Regions from separate parts of the Homo sapiens genome. Here region 2 is linked to region 1. Evidence: promoter capture Hi-C in human tissues and cell types (Jung and others, 2019). All regions are on one chromosome and are shown on one strand. The core of a region is centred on a gene start or on the middle of the fragment in contact, and the rest is flanking DNA. Distances in the headings are between cores, read along the strand shown.

What was found. Contacts are between HindIII fragments. The study calls those that stand out against the background at their distance.
Region 2: a contact is called between a fragment that was not itself captured here and the fragment with the promoter of HPS3 in region 1, in 4 of the 25 tissues and cell types used here (aorta, bladder, hippocampus and 1 more).

What each region holds. Positions count from the first base shown.
Region 1 is chr3:149,127,499-149,131,170 of GRCh38, forward strand. HPS3 (HPS3 biogenesis of lysosomal organelles complex 2 subunit 1) reads left to right here and starts at 2,140. Exons shown (of 17, transcript NM_032383.5): 1 at 2,140-2,442. The coding sequence starts at 2,226. RefSeq lists enhancers at 2,141-2,400, 2,182-2,681. The HindIII fragment of the contact is 14,149 bases long and covers 1-3,672 here.
Region 2 is chr3:149,176,716-149,180,368 of GRCh38, forward strand. CP (ceruloplasmin) reads right to left here. Exons shown (of 19, transcript NM_000096.4): 15 at 2,841-2,947; 16 at 1,700-1,916; 17 at 1,125-1,264. Among named protein-coding and RNA genes, the nearest start is that of CP, 43 kb to the right of the region's middle. The HindIII fragment of the contact is 9,435 bases long and covers 1-3,653 here.

The sequences.
Region 1 (3,672 bases), core at 890-3,389:
ATCTGGAGGCTGGGATGGGAGGATTGCTCGAGCTCAGGTGGTCAAGGGTACAGTGAGCCATGATCACACTGCTGCACTCCAGCCTGGGTGACAGAGCGAAACCCCATCTCTTTAAATAAGAAAGAAAAGAAAGAAAGAGAGAGAAAGGAGGGAAGGAAGGAAGAAAGTTCTCAAGACAACCCTTTTCAACAGAGTGCTACCCTAAGTGCATGTGCTATGGGCTAAATTGTGTCTTCCCCCCAAATTCATATGTTGAATCTGTAACCTCCAATACCTCAGAATGTGACTGTATATAGAGATAGGGCCTTTAAGAAATAATTAAGGTTAAATAAGATCATAAGGGTGGGTCCTAATCTAATATGGCTGGTATCTTTATAAGACAAGGGAAGGACACCAGGGATGCAGGCACACAGAGGAAAGACCATAGGAACACATAATAAAAAGGTAGTCATCTTCAAGCCAAGGAGAAGGGGCTTCAGGAGAAACCATACCTGCTGACATCTTATCTTGGACTTCTAGCCTCCAGACCTGTGAAAATGAAATATCTATTGTGTAAGCCACCCAGTCTGTGGTGTTTTGTTATGGCAGCCCTTGCAAACAAATGCAACCTCCCGCAAGGAATTGATGGTGTGCCATTGCTGCCCCTGCATTCGTAACAGGAATACAAGTGGGCAGCTCCTGCTCACAGCTCCTGACAAACGTGGAAACCAGACACATGCCCCACCTTCCCTTGGGTAGCATGTCTCTTCCCAAAGAATCTTAGATGAGTCAGGTGCAGTGACTACAGCAAGGAAGAAGACACTATCTCTAGGAAGGAATGGGGTTCCAGGTTTTGAGCAAATCTCACTTCTTTCTCCAAAACAGACATTCTTTTTATGCAGGTGAAATTACACTAAAGTTAATATCAGTCTTCATTAGGAGAAAATTGAATTAGGATAATTAAGTCTTGAAGAAGAAAATTAAGCCAAAAAGAATAATATGGCAGATACTTGTGGAAAGGAATCTTTTTTACTATTGATTTTGATATTTGCTCTTAAGTTTTGTATCTAGAACAAATAACTTGTGGACTATTAGTCTGGTTGTTTTCCATAGGAGCCTTCTGTGATTTTTTGCAGCCCTAGTTCCTGACCTGAGCTACCTCCATGTTTACTTCTCTAACTCACTGAGTTTGACGAACCTGTTGTTTCCCATTACTTAGAGGTACTTTATTCATCTGAAGGGCCTAGGAAAGGGAGGCAAGTTTAACTTCAATCCAATTGCATCTAATTTACAAATTCTGAACTGGAAACTGACTGAAGAAAATGTTGCACTTTCATTTATGTCCCTGTGTGCCTAAATAAAACAGCATCCCTCAATCCATGCTAACACATATATTTTCTAGGTGAACTGGACAAAGTTATACTACTTGTTTTATCTAAATCTGATTTTTTTAGAAAAGGGAAAGTGTTGCGATCGTGAACTCCACGTTGAGATGTCAGGAATAGATAATTTACTGCATAGTTTTAGGAGCACTGGACTGAAAGCCAGGGGATTTCCCTCCTAGTTCTTCTATCCTCTGGGGCTCAAACTAGTCTTTTGTCAAATGCCTACAAGATGAAGTCCATGGATTCTTTCTTTCAACAAATATCTTTTTGCCAAGCACGTTCAAGGCTTTGCTCTTTCCAGCTGAACTATTCTAGAATTTCCATTATTTTAAAGCAACTCTTCAGAGTGTTTAGCCCCGAGTTGCACCCCATTTCAGTTTTTGCAACCCCATCCTCCAGAAGCTCAGGGACTACTGAAGAGACATGAATAACGCTCCTCAAAGTAAGTACAAAATGTTACAAGATAGATGATGAATTGTCAGAACGTACTCAAAAGCCAAAACATACCGCCTGGCCCAAAGCAGTAAAAGACGAAAGGCAGGGACCCAGCGGTCCCCGCACCCACCGGCCACTGAGCATAGAGCAGTGGCAAGCTCGCGCGGCGGAGTGGGAGGCGCAGAGACCGAAAGCACTGCAGCGCCAGAGCGCGGGCTGACCAGGCTGGCGTGACCGCTTTCCCGACGCCTGCCACGCCCCGCGGCGGCCTCTTTAAGTAGCGGAGCCGCGGGCGGGGCCGGCTGGCGTTCACGTGACCCGGCGTCATTGGCTCGCTCGCGGAAGTAGTCCTACATTCGCGGTCAGCGCGGGGTCTCCGGGCGCCCTGCAGGGCGGGCAGGCTGTGCCATCCCGCCGGACGTCGGGATGGTGCAGCTGTACAACCTGCACCCGTTCGGGTCGCAGCAGGTGGTGCCCTGCAAGCTGGAGCCGGACCGGTTCTGTGGCGGGGGGCGTGACGCGCTTTTCGTGGCGGCGGGCTGCAAGGTGGAGGCGTTCGCGGTGGCCGGCCAGGAGCTGTGCCAGCCGCGGTGCGCCTTCTCCACGCTGGGCCGGGTGTTGCGCCTGGCCTACAGCGAGGCTGGTGAGTAATCTAGAGAGCCAGGGGCCGCCTGGGGTCCAGCTTGAGGCCTCCTAGCTAGCGGACCGAACGTCTGGGCTGTAGCTCTAGCTAGGGATGGGACTTCTTGCTTCCCGGAATTTGCCGGATGGTCTCCCTGGGTCTGGCCGCTGATTGCTTGAAGTCGCATTGAGCTATGCGGTTGTCGCGGCAAGCATAGGTATGAGCTTGCTTCTGTCGGGGCGGAGACGCTGACATCTCTTCGTCTTGGTTTTCTGCAGAAAGGCCTCTGGCTGGATTCCACTCATCTCGGATACTTAAGCAAACAACAACAAAAAACTCTTTAGTGCATCAGATTTCAAAGACTTACCAAAAAAACAAGTAGGAATAAGGAGACTAGTACTGTATCCCGGAACCTCCAAGTACTCCCAGCTTTAACAATTATTCCAACTCTTGGCAGTTCTTTCACATCTGTACCTCCATCTACTTCCGGTCGGTTTTTGAAAGCTCACATTATGTGTTGATTTTTAAATGTGTGTAAGTAGAACTCAGACTGCCCCCCTCTCTTCTCTTAAACATCTGTGGCCGGGCGCAGTGGCTCACGCCTGTAATCCCAACACTTTGGGAGGCTGAGGCAGGCGGATCACGATGTTAGGAGTTCGAGACCAGCCTGGTCAATTTATTGAAACCCCGTCTGTACTAAAAATACAAAAATTAGCCGGACGTGGTGGTGGGCGCCTGTAGTCTCAGCTACTTGGGAGGCTGAGGCAGGAGAATCGCTTGAACCGGGGAGGCGGAGATTGCCCCATTGCACTCCAGTTTAGGCGACAGAGTGAGACTCCGTCCCAAAACAAACAAAAACAAACAGTTGTAAGAGCAGCCGTTACTCTTTCACACCAGAAATGTGAAGCAATACCAAGGAAATACTGTGTGGGTGAATCCTATTTTAGAAAAATCCAACATTTAAAACTAGATCCCTTTTAGATTACAGAAGAATTTACCATATAATTCCTTTAATACACTTACCTTCGATTCATACTTTACAAGATGGGTGTAAAGTTCAGTATTTACGTTGCAAAAGCTGGTGGCTATGCTATTAATGAAGTGGAGAACTTGAACCTGGAAGATTGGAGATCTCTCTCTAATCCCTACCCCGCAGCTGGTTCGGTGTGAGTTTATAGAAACCTTGGGGTCTGAGTTTATGTTAAAAAAAAAAAAAAAAAACAAAAAGTTGAATAAATAGATCAGTGATAT
Region 2 (3,653 bases), core at 303-2,802, 49 kb after region 1:
CACAAAAGGAACTCAGCTGTGGCCCCATTTCAGCCCTAGCCTCACTTTTGCCTGAATCTGTCCTAGCTTGTCTGAAGCTTTAAGTCAAGGTAAATAATAAAGGAAGCAGAAAAGGAGGCTGATGAAAACGACAAAAACCAGAGGCACTTCAGGGAGTCTCGGCTGGAAACAGTAGTTGGGTGACAATAGTCTATTTCTGCAAGGATAGAATTGAAAGCCCACTAAGAATACAATATATCTATGTAAAACAAAATGCAGGTAACAAAACAGGCTTTCTGCAGTATGCTTTTTGATAACTTCTGCCTTTTCTAAATTAGCCCAAAGCATAAGGAAAAAGCATTTCCAGGAGGGCCACTGGCTTCTGCTGAAATCAGTACTGAGAAAGAATAGAAGTAAGATTGAGATGTACAGACCAGTTGCTTGTCACCTAACTGATCTTGCTCACCATGGGCCATTTAAGATACAGAACTTAGAACAGGCAGGGCAAGGGTTATAATAAAGTCTTGTTGTGGTCTCTACTCTCATCCATCATTATGTGAACATTCCTACCCTCTTTGTTAGCAATTCCGCTCAGTTGCCTTAATCAGGAATCTGAGCAGAACTCCATGAAAATTCAGTTAAAAATGCAAATCCTAGGAAGAGCTCAATGTGTAACAAAGGCTAGTGTGTCAATTGAAATTGCTGTGCCTTATATAGGCATCCCTCAGTATCTATGGAGGATTGGTTTCAGGAATGCCCCCATACCAAAATCCATGGATGCTCAAGTCCCTTATATAAAATGGCATATTTCCATTTAACTTATGCACATCCTTCCATATACTTTAAATCATCTCTAGATTATTATAATACCTAATACAGTGCCTACATATCATTTCATTTGCATGGATTCAACATAGTACTCAGTGCAGCAGATCCAAGTTTTGCTTTTTGGAACTTAGTGGAATTATTTTTTCCTGAATATTTTCAATCCATGATTGAATCCTGGGTGGGGAATCCACGGATATGAAGCACCGGCTGTACTCTTTGCAGCTTTTTTTCATAAGTCTCTCTGAGAAAATATTTTCTTCACTTGTATTAAAACATTTTCAAACAGAGCAAGAGTAATTGCCATGGATAGCTCTTACCTTGTATTGGAAGCTATGGCCGTGAAAATGTACAGTGTGTAAGTCTATTTCATTGCCCATTCCCATCAGATACCAGTTGACTTCATCTCCCACGTGCATTGTGAGGCCTTGTAGGTTTCCAAACATTCTTCCATTAATAGCTAGGGAAAGCATATGGTTTTATGTTACTTTTCAGGATATTTTAAACCAATAGCTATTTCAAAGAAAATATGATTATTAGGTTAATGTAAAGAATCTTTTTGATGTAATAGGACTTATTTTACTACAAATGAGAGAAATGGATACTTTAAAGTCAATAATATCACATTGCTTTTCTAGGCACTTTGCACCAAAAGCCTTAATCTTAGTTTTGGATTATTTCAAAGGAAATGAGATTTTGGAATTGGAAAATAAATTAGCAAATGATTTTGAACATAGTCCCCTTTTTGTTTTGAACAGGATTCTACCTGACATACAAAGTGAGGCAGAAGTGGTTTATTTTAAGACAAAACAAATGAATGGTCTCCAAAATAATTTTATTTGAAAGAGAAAATGATAAAAAAGTAGAAAAATTGTTTTAGAATAATGTGACATACCATGCATTTTATTGCTTTCTATGAATTCCTCATCATCTTTGTTTACTTTCTCGGGGTGATCAGAGTATGTTTTGATGTTGTCATCTAAGTACCAAGATTCATTCTCATCAAAAACTAGAAACAGAAGGGCAAATTCCAGTTTCCTTCTGGGATTGAATACTTTCAAGTAAGGTCTTCGACAAACAATCAGGGGGCCAATTAATCCACTGTAGAGGTCCTGGAAACAAGAAAAATCTTCAGTAACCCTTGTGAATTAGGTCAGGATTTCAGAGAACTGAGACTTTGCACCCAGGGCCTCAGGAATTTTGGAGAGACCAATTGAAGTAACAGACTTTGCCCAATGTGGTACTGCCAATTTAGTAACTTTTCACTTGAAGTAGTTAAATTGGAACAATGGTGAGTAGTAGGTAGGTCATGTGGGTGATGCTGACATAACAGAAATGTCTGCAGAGGCAAAAATTAGCTCAGCTAATGAGCAGTGATTTTAAAAGAATCCCAAATGAACAGTGTTGGTTTGTTCCATAAACTCATGAACTCTTGAGTGTGAGCCAAGCGCTATGGCAGTCCCTAAAAATCCATAGATGAATGAAATGTGTAATAATAAATAGGACCACAAATACCAGATTTACTCATTTGTTTGAGCCAGAACACTGAATTATCAAGGAGCTACTTCCCCCGGCTCACTCAGGCACTTCACCCACCTATCTATAACCGACTCCATTTCTTTTCTCCCTCCTTACAGTAGAGGTCCTTGAAATTTGCCTCACGTATTACAACGGCCTCCCAACCTCCAGTCTCTTCCCCCTCCAAGCCTTCCTTCATTCCACCAGAATGAAGGATCTGAAATGCAAATATACTGCCATTCTTGGTCAATTTTTCAGTGGCTACCTGTGACCCACAAGACAAAAATCTAAACTTCCCAAATATCTTGAAAGGCCTTTGAGCTGTATCATATTAGGAAATGTTAGATTTTTGTCTTGTGTGTCATAGGTAGCAGCATAGTTGCTAAAGTAGATTGCAAACAGTTTATTTTCCTAGGATTTTAACGTAGAATTGGACCACAGGAAAACACTAACCTTGTCTTCCTTCAATTGTGTGTCTATTTTGGGAAGTGTCACAAAACAAATGATTTGTATTTTACCTTAACTTGATCCACAGTTGAATAATAAGCCCATGGAATACAAGCAGAATCCTCTGTTCCAGCTCCAGATCTTTCTGGGATTTTCCATACGTAAGTGAGAGTTTCACCTAAATTCATCAAGTGTTAATGGATCTGGTTGTATTTGGTTTATATTGTACACACACACACACACACACACACACACACACACACACAGCCTTGATAACTAGGACCCAGGAACTGGAAATGTCAGTGTAATTAGTTTTTAAAAATTGTGGTACTCAAGATTGTTTTCAGGAATTTAGTTTTAAGATGAACTGGAAGACAAAATTTTGTCATTTTTTGGGTTAATTTTAAATTAGCTATAACCCACTTGCCATACCACAAAGCTAGGAGGTGTGTACTTCAATATTACAATTTGAAAAAACTTTGCAACCAATCTCTTCTTAGCTTGAAGTGTGTTTTCCTAATATACTTTTTTCTCTTCAGATACCAAGTGATTTTTCCCCAGTGGCTGGCACCTTTCCCGTAATCTCTGCATGTGTGTATCTGGACTATTTTGTGTAATTCCCTCAGCTTCAGCATTGGCTTCCTTTCCTTGTCCTCTCTCATGATCATCCTTAGTGAGCTCATGATTCCTGGCGAGGAGCCGTTAGACCTCTTGATCTCATGAGTCACCGACTTGACACAGTTATGTTTACCTCCCCCTCCAGTCCATCTCATTCTATCACACCATGTGCTGTTTTGTCACTACTCCCACATACAGGACATAACCACACCCTCGGCCTTGGCATTTTGAAGACGACCAGTTGCTTCACCCTCCTGCTTTGCCAA